Linked DNA regions of Homo sapiens: region 1 is linked to region 2. The links are contacts of gene promoters, found by promoter capture Hi-C in blood cells and fetal thymus (Javierre and others, 2016). All regions are on one chromosome and are shown on one strand. Each heading gives the region's core, a stretch centred on a gene start or on the middle of the fragment in contact. The rest is flanking DNA. Distances are from core to core; before and after follow the strand shown.

What was found. The method cuts DNA at HindIII sites, captures the fragments that hold promoters and counts their contacts. A CHiCAGO score of 5 or more calls a contact.
Region 1: a contact is called between a fragment that was not itself captured here and the fragment with the promoter of PLAA in region 2, in 1 of 17 cell types (megakaryocytes). The highest score is 5.2, in megakaryocytes.

What each region holds. Positions count from the first base shown.
Region 1 is chr9:27,255,353-27,261,385 of GRCh38, forward strand. It overlaps the pseudogene REXO6P. Among named protein-coding and RNA genes, the nearest start is that of EQTN, 39 kb to the right of the region's middle. The HindIII fragment of the contact is 189 bases long and covers 3,262-3,450 here.
Region 2 is chr9:26,945,828-26,951,997 of GRCh38, forward strand. PLAA (phospholipase A2 activating protein) reads right to left here and starts at 1,415. Exons shown (of 14, transcript NM_001031689.3): 1 at 1,070-1,415. The coding sequence starts at 1,218. It also overlaps a transcript of IFT74 not described here. RefSeq lists enhancers at 490-1,165, 909-1,168, 1,166-1,839, 1,429-1,738. The HindIII fragment of the contact is 3,001 bases long and covers 1-1,864 here.

The DNA.
Region 1 (6,033 bases), core at 2,106-4,605, 310 kb after region 2:
GAACAGAACCAATGAAAAAAACCACATGATTATCTCAATAGATGCAGAAAAGGCCTTCGACAAAATTCAAGACCCCTTCATGCAAAAAGCTCTCAATAAACTAGGTATCGATGGAACTTATCTCAAAATAATAAGAGCTATTTATGACAAACCCACAGCCAACATACTGAATGCGCAAAAACTGGAAGCATTCCCTTTAAAAACCGGCACAAGACAAGGACACCCTCTCTCACCCCTCCTATTCAACATAGTATTGGAAGTTCTGGACAGGGCAATCAGGCAAGAGAAAGATATAAAGTGTATTCAAATAGGAGGAGAGGAAGTCAAATTGTCTCTGTTTGCAGATGATATGGTCATGTATTTAGAAAACCCCATTGTCTCAGCCCAAAATCTCCTTAAGCTGATAAGCAACTTCAGCAAAGTCTCAGGATACAAAATCAACGTGCAAAAATCACAAGCATTCTTTTTTTTTTTTTTTTTTTTTTGAGACGGAGTCTCGCTCTGTCGCCCAGGCTGGAGTGCAGTGGCGCGATCTCGGCTCACTGCCATTCTTATACACCAATAACAGACAAACAGAGAGCCAAATCATGAGTGACATCCCATTCACAATAGCTACAAAGAGAATAAAATACCTGGGAATCCAACTTACAAGGGATGTGAAGGACCTCTTCAAGGAAAACTACAAACCACTGCTTAAGGAAATAAGAGAGGACACAAACAAATGGAAAAACATTCCATGCTCATGAATAGGAAGAATCAATGTCGTGAAAATGGCCATATTGTCCAAAGTAATTTATAGATTCAATGCTATCCCCATCAAGCTACCACTGACTTTCTTCACAGAATTGGAAAAAACTACTTTAACGTTCATATGGAACCAAAAAAAGAGCCTGCATAGCCAAGACAATCCTGGGCAAGGAAAACAAAGGTGGAGGCATCACGCTACCTGACTTCAAACTATACTACAAGGCTACAGTAACAAAACAGCATGGTACTGGTACCAAAACAGATATATAGACCAATGGAACAGGACAGAGGTCTCAGGAATAACACCACACATCTACAACCATCTGTTCTTTGACAAACCTGACACAAACAATGGGGAAAAGATTCCCTATTTAATAAATGGTGTTGGGAAAACTGGCTAGCCATATGCAGAAAACTGAAATTGGACCCCTTTCCTTACACCTTATACAAAAATCAACTCGAGATGGATCAAAGACTTAAACGTAAGACCTAGGACTATAAAAATCCTGGAAGAAAACCTGGGCAATACCATTGAGGACATAGGCATGGGCAAAGACTTCATGTCTAAAACACCAGAAGCAATGGCAACAAAAGCGAAAATAGACAACTGGGATCTAATTAAACTAAAGAGCTTCTGCACAGCAAAATAAACTATCATCAGTATGAAGAGGCAACCTGCAGAATGGGAGAAAATTTTTGCAATCTATCCATCTGACAAAGGGCTAATATCCAGAATCTACAAGGACTTCAACAAATTTACAAGAAAAAAAAAACCACCAAAAAATGGGCAAAGGATATGAACAGACACTTCTCAAAAGAGGACATTTATGCAGCCAACAGACATATGAAAAAATGCTCATCATCACTGGTCATTAGAGAAATGCAAATCAAAACCACAATGAGATACCATCTCACGCCACTTAGAATGGTGATCATTAAAAAGTCAGGAAACAATAGATGCTGGAGAAGATGTGGAGAAATAGGAATGCTTTTACACTGTTGGTGGGAGTGTAAACTAGTTCAACCATTGTGGAAGACAGTATTGCAATTCCTCAAGGATCTAGAACCAGAAATACCATTTGACCCACCAATCCCATTACTGGGTATATACCCAAAGGATTATAAATCATTCTACTATAAAAACACTTGCACACTTATGTTTGTTGTGGCACTGTTCACAATAGCGAAGACTTGGAACCAACCCAAATATCCACCAATGATCGACTGGATAAAGAAAATGTGGCACATATACACCATGGAATAAAAAATGATGAGTTCATGTCCTTTGCAGGGACATGGATAAAGCTGGAAACCATCATTCTCAGGAAACTATCACAAGAACAGAAAACCAAACGCCGCATGTTCTCACTCATAAGTGGGATATGAACAATGAGAACACATGGACACAGGGAGGGGAAAAACACACATCAGGGCCTGTTGGTGGGTGGGGAGCTAGGGGAGGGATAACATTAGGAGAAATACCTCATGTAAGTGACAGGTTGACGGGTGCAGCAAACCACCATGGCACGTGTATACCTTTGTAACAAAACTGCACGTTCTGCACATGTACCCCAGAATTTAAAGTATAATAACAATAATAAAAAGATCTTAAGCTGGAAAATGGAATACTGTCTTCTATCTTTAGTATAAGGAAATGCCACAAATCTTCTTTCCAAATATACAATGGGGAATAAAAACTTATCTTATGTTTTATTAAAGATGACTATTCATATGTTTGACATGTACAAAGCACTTTCCTATATTTTAGCATATCTGATTTTCATAGTCACTATGGGGTTGTTACTGACTCCATAATTTACAGCTTAGAGCATCTAAGAGACTTGCTCAGAAGGTCACAGCTAGTAGAACTTTCCAGGTCTTGTAATTCCAAATTCTGTTTTCCCCACTTTTTAGCACTGATTCTTATGTAAAGGAACATAAGTCCCTATAAAGATTTTATTGTCTCTAGAAATGATTTTGCCAAAAGCATTAAAGCTTTTATGCTGATTATTTTTCACTCACATAATTTCAGCAATTTGATGAGTAGAATTACCACTATTTGTATATTTTAGAAATTTGACCGATAAAAAGACACTCAGGACAGTTCCTGGCTCCATCGCTCTAGGTGCGTGAACTTAACCAATTCACTAACTCTTCTCAGCTTTAATGGCTTCATCTGAAAATTTGTGAACAACCAATGCAGCACTGTGTCGTCAAGGAATAAGGCCCTGGAAACCCTTCTACCAGGTAGACTGCTACACAATCATTCAGTCATAATAACCACAGTAAAGTAAAATATAAAACCAACATACCATCTCACAACTTACTGCAAACACACGGTGATTACCATCAGCAGGTGGGAACTTGACAAAAGTCTTCACAAAGCCCTTTAGGTTTTCTTTGTGGTCATGAACATGAAGCTGAAACAAACATTGTCAAATAAATTACTGTTTTTTCTAAGTACAATTAGGCTCATAAAATGTCATCAACTGAAAATTAGTTAATTTTTTCAAAAGCTTATCCATCACCAAGGCCTGTGTTGGAGGCTACAACTTGGTTTCTGAAACAGGCAGCACTTTGGGTGACAAGTCCTACCTTGGCGACCTGACACCGGGGCGATCCAAGGAAACCTCCACAACAGCCGTATTGAGATTCAAAGCCACTGAGGACTGTAAACCAACCGAAAAAATAAAAATCAAAACAAGCTTTACAAGGCAGAGTGACTAACTCTCATGAACATGCATTTTCTTTGACCCTTAAAGAGCTTTAAGGACTCTACTGTGCAAATATTTTTAAGTCACCTCTCTTCAGTTACTTTTTTAGATATTGCATAATAGACAAAAATCTATTCCGATAAGCAGAGTTCTCACGGGCCATGCTTGAAGGTGAATTATAATTGCTAATGTTGTGAACACCTTTCTTCCCCTCTTTTTATCATTTGCCCTGGCCCATCAGCTCTCCTCTGGCTTCCTTACTTTATCCTGCATTGACTGGTTTGACAGTCAAACCACTTCAATCATCCTCTCAACATCTACTCTTACTCCCTGACCTTTTCTTTCTGCTAGAACCTTCTGTATGACTAGTTCCAACTACCACCTTCTCCATTCCTGTATCCAGATTTTTATCCAACCCAAGAAAAATCACCCAGTTATGCAGACTGAGACCACAATACAGATGTTGGCTCCAACCTTGGCTGGACCTTCAAAGTCCTGATGCCTTCGGCTTTTGCATCCTTCGCCAGACACCTTGCACGTTCTTCGCAGCAATAATCTCAATACTTCATATCTCTTTTCTTACCCTACTCCTATCATCCACCTCATCCATACCCTTACCTACCCTGAGCCCTTCTGTCTGGCCCTAGGAAATATTCTCCCAATTGCTCCCTAACAAGTCCCTCTGCCTCCAGGGAGTTTTTGCACTAGTTTTTGCACTAGTTTTTCTAGTAAAAACTGCCATACAAAGCCCTTTCTACAAAATGGTAAGAAAAGCTCAGGGTGTAAAAGTAACGTGCCCGGGAAAGCAAGCAGCAGAACAGCCCCAACTCTCAGCTCTGCTGGCTCCGAAGTCCCTGTTCTGCCCATTATCCTGTATGGTCCCATCAGCCCAACTGGTTTGTTTGCTACACTTATTCTTCCTCAGCATCTTCCCTCCTTGTTCGTCTTCTTGGAATTCACAGTCTCCCACTTTCCCAAACTAAGCCCTCCATGCTTTAAAGATGGATTGAGCTTGTCTGATTTACTTGATGACATTATTTATTCATATATTTTTCCTCCCATGGTTCCCCTCTATTTCCTTTTTATAGGATTTATTACAATATTATCCATAGTTATGTCCACATCTACATAAATAATTTACCTGTTCACCCATCCAAATGTTTACTGATGGCTTGCGTGTGTCAGAAACTGTGCTAAGTGCTGGGGGAACATGGGGAGAAAAAAATGTTGGACAGTCCCTCCAGAAGCTTATTTTTTGAAGATGGTGGACAGATTACTAACTCATTACAAAATATAATTAACTGCTATAGAAGAAAGAGACAGGGTGCTGCAGAAGAGGGAGGCCCTATTTAGAAAGTACGGTCAGGAAAAGACCTTGAGGATGTGACAATTAAGCAGAGACCTCCAGGTTAAGAAGGAATTAGCCATGTGAAAAGTCGAGGATGCAGCAGGCAAGAAGGCTCCAGAAAGGTGGGAGAAAGTGTGGTGTAAAGACAGCAAGGGAAAGGGTGGAAGAGGGGGCAGGGGCCAGATCAGAGAAGCAGGAGGTTTGGGATATGCTTTTGACACAGAACAGTGGGACTCGCACACTGTCCAGATGAAAGGGTGTACAAAAAGGAGGCAGTGAGGATGACACCAGGTTTCTTGGTTAAGCAGGGGAACAAATACACCTAAGTGGACTATAGGGAATTGAGGGTGCTGGAGATGATCCCAGGGTGGGGAGAGGATCACAAGCTCATCTTCATGCAGGTGATGCTGTGGTACCCGAGGGAAACCCACATAGGCAGGCAGATGGATATTCAGCAAAGCTGGGAGTCCAGGGGAAATGTTTCTTTAGAGATACACATTTAGGGGCTAACAGCAGTTAGAGGCTGTTGAAAGCCATGGGAAAGAATCAGTTCATCTAGGGAGAAGGGGGATATGGAGAGACAAGGCTCCCAAAGCTCTGAGAATTTCTGCCACTAGAGGCTGGTAAGGAAGAATATTCAGCAGAGGAGGTTGAAAGGAAGTAGCTGGAAAGGGAGGAAGAAAGGCAGAAGTGGGTGTTGTTACAAAAGCAGAGAGGAGAATACTATAAGGTAAGACAGTACTGAAAAGATAAGTCAAGTGACTCAGAAACAAGTCTATTAGATCCAGCAGCCTCGAGGTCACTGATGTGAGCTTCAGTGGTGAGTGGAGAGTAAAGCCAGCTAGCATAGACAACTCTTTGTTGTGCATGAAGCATATGCAACAGGCGGAGAAATGAGAGTAGTTATGCAGCAAGAGACCTGGGACCATGGAGGTTTAGTTTGCTACAACAAATGAGAGATACCAGAATGGTATGTCGAGAACATGCTGATCTTATAGAGGAGAGTCTGGTGAGTCCCTGAGTAGGTGCTGGAGGACAGGCAGAGAAATGAGAGTAGCTATGCAGCAAGAGACCGGGACCATGGAGGTTTAGTTTGCTAAAACAAATGGGAGATACCAGAATGGTATGTCGAGAACATGCTGATCTTATAGAGAAGGGGAGTCTGGTGAGTCCCTGAGTAGGTGCACGAGGACAGGATACAGAGCACATGGAGAGGAACTGTGA
Region 2 (6,170 bases), core at 165-2,664:
CATCCATCTCATGCTTCAAATGTCAACTTTAAACAAACAACTCCTCAGAGAGGCTTCCTTTAATATATCTCTCCACCTAATTAACTGTATGTTTTCTTCACATGCCAGTTTTTAATTATTTATTGGCTTGTTTTTTAATCTATCTTCCCCATCAGACTGTAAGAAAGCTCCAGAAACACTGGCAACTTGTCTGTCTTTATTCCTCTCCAGTATCCCAAACAAAGAGGAGGCACTCAACAGTTATCAACTGAATTTATGGATGGTGACTCAAATTCTAAAATCTCTAGCAGTGGGAGACCTACTAAATAACAAAATAACTAACCTCAATTTTTCTTTCTCTGAACTGCAATCTGTCTTCTAGGTCTTAAATATCCTGTTACAACCAGCCAAATCAGGGCTGAACCCGTGAACTCGATCAGGACTGATTCCTAACCTTTTTCTTCTTTTTTTTTTTGGTTCGTGAACCCTTCTGATAAATCCTTTGAAGGCAATGGATGCTGCTTCTCCTCAAGAAACAGCACATGCACAGAAACAAAACATCCGAGAGGTTTCACTCCCTCAGGACCAGCACAGACCACAGACTAAAATTCTAACCTGGACGAAAAGAGGATTCACCAGTGCAATTTTTGAGAACTAAAGTCTTCAAAAATTAAATTTTACAGAAGACTACAGAGCATCTTCTTCGAAAAAAAAAAAAAAAGAGGACATTTCAGATGCCTTCAAACTACCTCACTTCGGAGGGTGCAACTGCAATCAGTAAATTTTCAAGTCTAAAAGAAACTTGGGAGATCATCGTCCAAAAACTGAAGGCCCAAAAGGTAGGAGACTCGTCTGTGGTCAAGTTAGCACAACAAGGCAGGTCTTTGGTCCCCCAACCCTGTGCTCTTTCCACTTAAATCCCGATGGTTTCTTACAGAGTTCTAATAGTCTGAGAATTGGAAGGGAGCGGAGAGCAGAGGGAAGGCTGGGGGGAGAGAGAGACGGCAGGACTGACAGGGAAGGGTCACTCTCCTTCCACTCTCCGGGAAGCGTGCAACACAGCCGGGGCAACCCGACTCCCAGCGCTCACCTGTCTGGGGCCCAGAGGCGGGTGGTGCGGTCTCGGGACACGGACACAAAGGCTCCCGGCGGATAGGCGCAGCACACCAGGCCCCGTACGTCCAGCTCGTGGCCCCGGAGCGAGCAGCTCAGCCGGTACCTGGTTGCGCCGCTCGTCATGGCCAGTGTCTGTCTGGCGCCCGGTGCCCAGGCACTGTGCGAGACCAGTCCGCAGGGGCGACTCGGAGAGCGCCGGGCCGCGGCGGGAGAAGAGCCTGCAGGTAAGGGGCGGCCGGAGACCGGAAGAGCCCGAGAGCCGGTACGGAAGGGCGGCTGGGAAGGGGCGCGCCGAGCGGGCCGAGTGACACAGCAAGCCTGACAGGCACTCCGGAATTCATCATCGGCCTCAGCCCTCCATGACGCAGAGTGTGTGCGTCCCAACCGCCGACGCCGATGCGGAGCTGAGCTGGCTTTCCTCCAGGGCTCTGGACTCCCTGCTGAGCAAGAGAGAAAGAGGCCCGCCCTTCCACCAGGACGCCTGACCCTGGGGTCCTTCCCAAACCCGGGTCTCTTCCGACTCCGGGCCCAACAGTTTGTGGTAAATCGGGAAGCGGGCCGGGACTACAATTCCCATAATGCCGCGCCAGCTGGCGTGGACATCCGGCGCGCCGAATCCGGATATTTTAAACCTGAGTCTTTCGCGCTGGGCATGGCGGAATGGCTGAGTGAGGTTGTTTGGTGTCTACTGTTAGGTCATCCTCACTGCTTTTCCCTGAGAATCTCGAGGTTTTTGCAAGTTAACCTTGTTTTTCAATTAAAACGAGAAAGCTTGAGGCCAAATTGGGAACTATTAATCATTGAACTATTCCTCCGTTTCAAGTTATCTGAATCTCCTACTCTCTGTTGTCAAATTTAGCAAATACGGTGGTCCAAGTCAATTTTTTAAAGGTATAACTACTTTTCTCTGGCGGCTTGTTAAAATGTAGATTCTGATTCAGTAGGTCTGAGTTAGAGCTGAGATACGTATTTTTAACAACCCCGCCGCCCACCCACCCGTGGTGCTACTTGCTAGTCATTATCAGACCTTATTGAGTGCCAGGGTAAACATGACCTGTCTCCTTACTTTGTTTTCTTCCCATCCGCTATTCTCTCGCATCCAACTACACTTTTCCACAAACCTTTCTAAATTGCTAAGCCCAATTCACACTTTTCTGACTTCTCCCTTCCTAAAACTCCTACTCTAGGTTTGGAATCACTTTTCCCCTGGTTTGGGAGATCATTCTTGAAATGCTGACTTTTGATACTTCTTTGCTATCATATCCCCTCCCTGGGTGGATTATTTACTACTTGGCTTATTTCTAGAGCTGTATTCCCATATTGTCTTCTCCAAACTCTAGATCTGTATTTCTAGCTATCTGTTAGAAATCTGTACCAATTAGTCCTACTTAAATTATTTCAACATTTCTCTGGCCTTTCTACCCCTTCTCTCCAGCCAATCCTACACATTAAAATATAATTATCTTTCTGAAATATACACTTAATTGTTTTTTCTCTGTTTGACAACCTGTGATGGCTTTCCATTATTTTTTTTTTTTTTTTTTTTTTTTTTTTTTTTTTTTTTTTGAGACGGAGTGTCGCTCTGCTGCCAGGCTGAGTGCAGTGGCGCGATCTCGGCTCACTGCAACCCTCGCCTCCCGGGTTCAAGCGATTCCTGCCTCAGCCTCCCGAGTAGCTGGGACTACAGGAGCGCGCCACCATGCCCAGCTAAATTTTGTGTTTTTAGTAGAAACGAGTTTCACCATGTTGGCCAGGATAGTCTCAATCTCTTGACCTCATAATCTGCCCTCCTCTGCCTTCCAAAGTGCTGGATTATAAGCGTGAGCCACCACGCCTGGCCGGCTTTCCATTCTTATAGTACAGCATTACATAGGGCCTTTCACACAATCTCCCTAATCTGTTTTACTAGATTCATCTCCCTCTGTTATCTCTCTTACTCTAGACATTTCGAATTTGTCACAATTCCCTGAACACATTATGCTGTATGCTCTCCATGTCTCTATGCTCTTTGTACATGCATTTTTTTTTTAAACTTAGAATTCCACTTTCTCCATCTGTCATAGTTCAACACCAGTTTATCTTCTGTTTTTTTCTAGTTCCTCTGGGGAACCAATGCAGTTTTGTCTGTTGTCAATATAGTATTTACTGCATTCTAATATGTTCTTTTATGTCTGTCTTTTCTACCGGACTACATTTTATTATTATCAAGACCTTTATTTTACATGAATCTTAACCATCTAATTTACTGCCTCCTATATAATAGGAAATGTTTTTCAACTTGGTATAGTATTCAGTTTACCAATTTTCACAGTCTCTCATTTAGTTCTCACAATAACCCTGCAAGGTAGATAGTATTATTCCCATTTCACACATGAAGAATTTGCCTTGTTTAAAAAATGTTAATTTGGAGGCCATTAGGTTGAGATAGTTCCAGCTCTGGAGCCCAACTCAATGTAAACAGTAAAATGAAACTTAAGCTTAACTAACAGAAACAGACAAACCTCTAACTAAGGACTTTCCACTTTAACCAATCAAGTAAGTATATTTTCTTAGTCTTGCTTCCACCAACCCCTTATAAAAGTTTTCCCCTCGTGCTGTAATTGCCCCTGTGTTCTTTTACACAGGGAAATGTGTAATTTCACATTTCCCTGTGTAATTGCCTGCTGCCTTCCAAAAAACCAATGCACTGAGAACTACAAATGTTGCAGCAGGGAAAGATGAATAATCACAGGGCCAGCCAACGAGGAGGATGGGAGATATTTCTCAAATCCACCTCCAAGAATGTAGAGACTAGGTTTTTAAAGGATCGGTTGGTGGGCAGGAGGCTAGGAAATGGGAAATGCTAATTGGTTGGGTCAGGGATGAATCACAGGTGTGTCAGAACTATCTTCGTGAACCTGAGTCATTTCTGAGGAGTGGGGTTCACAGGTCCAGGTTGTGTCTGTTGGTCTGCCAAAATGCTAAATTTGAAAAATATCTCAAAGACCAGTTAATTAGGTTTCACAATAGTGATGTTATCTGTAGGAGTACTTGGCGAAGTTACAAATCTTGTGACCTCTGGTTACGTGACTCCAGGGCAGGAGGCTCTATAGAAAAGCAAGCTAATTAGGCTGGGTGAGGTGGCTCACGCCTGTAATCCCAGCACTTTGGGAGGCCAAGGCAGGTGGATCACAAGGTCAGGAGATCGAGACCATCCTGGCTAACATGGTGAAACCTTGTCTCTACTAAAAATACAAAAAGTTAGCCGGGTGTGGTGGCACGCGCCTGTAGTCCCAGCTACTCAGGAGGCTGAGGCAGGAGAATCACTTGAACCCGGGAGGGGGAGGTTGCAGTGAGCTGAGATTGCGCCACTGCACTCCAGCCTGGCAACAGAGCGAGACTCTGTCTCAAAAAAAAAAAAAGAAAGAAAGAAAAGCAAGCTAATCAAACAATGCCAAGTTATTGTTTGAGCATGTCTATTCTTTAGCAAAGTTCAAGCCTCTACCATAATTCTAATCTTGTCTTATGAATGTAGCTTCAATCTCCATACAAGGAGTTGGGGTGGGGGGTCACTTTTCCTTGCCTCAAAGTTTAACTATAAACCAAATTCCTGGCATAGTTATTTTAGCCTCCACACTAGAATAAGCAAAAAACAAACTAACAATAAAACGACAACAACAAAAAACTAGTTTAGCCTGTGAGGTTTTGAGCAAAATGGAGTCAGTCATGTTAGATTTCTCTCATTAGTTATAATTCTGCAAAGGTAGTTTAAGTGCCCCTAGATGGAGTTTCACCACTTGTGGTTTGGTGCTGCCCAATTCATGAATCACTGTCTGCTCAACTGAACTGTTTAATACTTTAATGTGTGTTGTCTTTTAACAGCTTGATAGGAGGTTAATGCTCAGTAGATGTTATTGGTTACCTTAATGAATTAATGAATAACTGAAATAACTATTTTAATGTCACATAACTAGAACATAGTGCAGCTGGGACTAAAATTCTATGAACACTAAATTGGGTTCTTGATACTTTAAAAATAATTTTAATGTTTTTATGTGTTCAGCAGTTCAAAGGTTTAAAACAAATCATTTATGTCAACTGTCTGTCTGCATACAAATAACAATTCTGGATCCCCCTCCCATATGCCTGAAGGCATGAAGGAAAAATGTCCGTAATGACAGTAGTTCTCTCAGAGAAAATGCATGGAATAGTTGGGTAGCTGGACTAAACATCACAGTTTGTGTAAATTGAGGTAAACATCACAGTTTATGTTCTCAATATGATGTTTTCATTAAAATTTAATTTTAAAAGCCCTCAATGCACTGAGAACAGCATTAATGCAGATTATACAGGAATGAAGTTGGGGTCAATATGGTTCAGGGCTGGCAACTTAGTAGGAAAACCCAGGCAAACTAAAGAAAGGAATTGTAACAGGGATGGTATTTGGCTTGTGTGTGAAAGTGATGGTGACAGAATATTGTTTAGCATTTTTTTTTTAACTAAAATTCGCCACATAGACTCTGGTGCCAAAACTTTGGGCTGGTATAGCACAATACATACATGAAATAAAATATTAAAATGCATTGGAAAATGATAGAAATTTTACATGTACAGATCTTAGAAAATTGAGGCTACAAATATGTCCCCCATAAGGGGAATGTTGAAAAAACAAAGTCCATATATATAAGAAAAAAACCCATAAAATGTGAAATATGGGCTGGGCGCAATGGCTCACGCCTGTAATACTACCACTTTGGGAGACTGAGGCAGGTAGATTGCCTGAACTCAGGAGTTCACAACCACCCTGGGCAACACAGTGAAACCCCGTCTCTACTAAAATACAAAAAATTAGCCGGGTGTGGTGGTATGCGCCTGTAGTCCCAGCTACTCGGGAGCCTGAGGCAAAGAATCACTTGAACCTGGGAGGCAGAGGTTGCAGTGAGCCGAGATAGCTCCACTCCACTCCAGCCTGGGTGAAACAGCAAGACTCTCTCAAAAAAAAACAAGTGAAATATGAACTTCATCTTTAAGGATGGTTATCAGCTTCTAAATCACATTCGTCTTGCCAGTACTGTGGAACATGACAGAAAATGTTT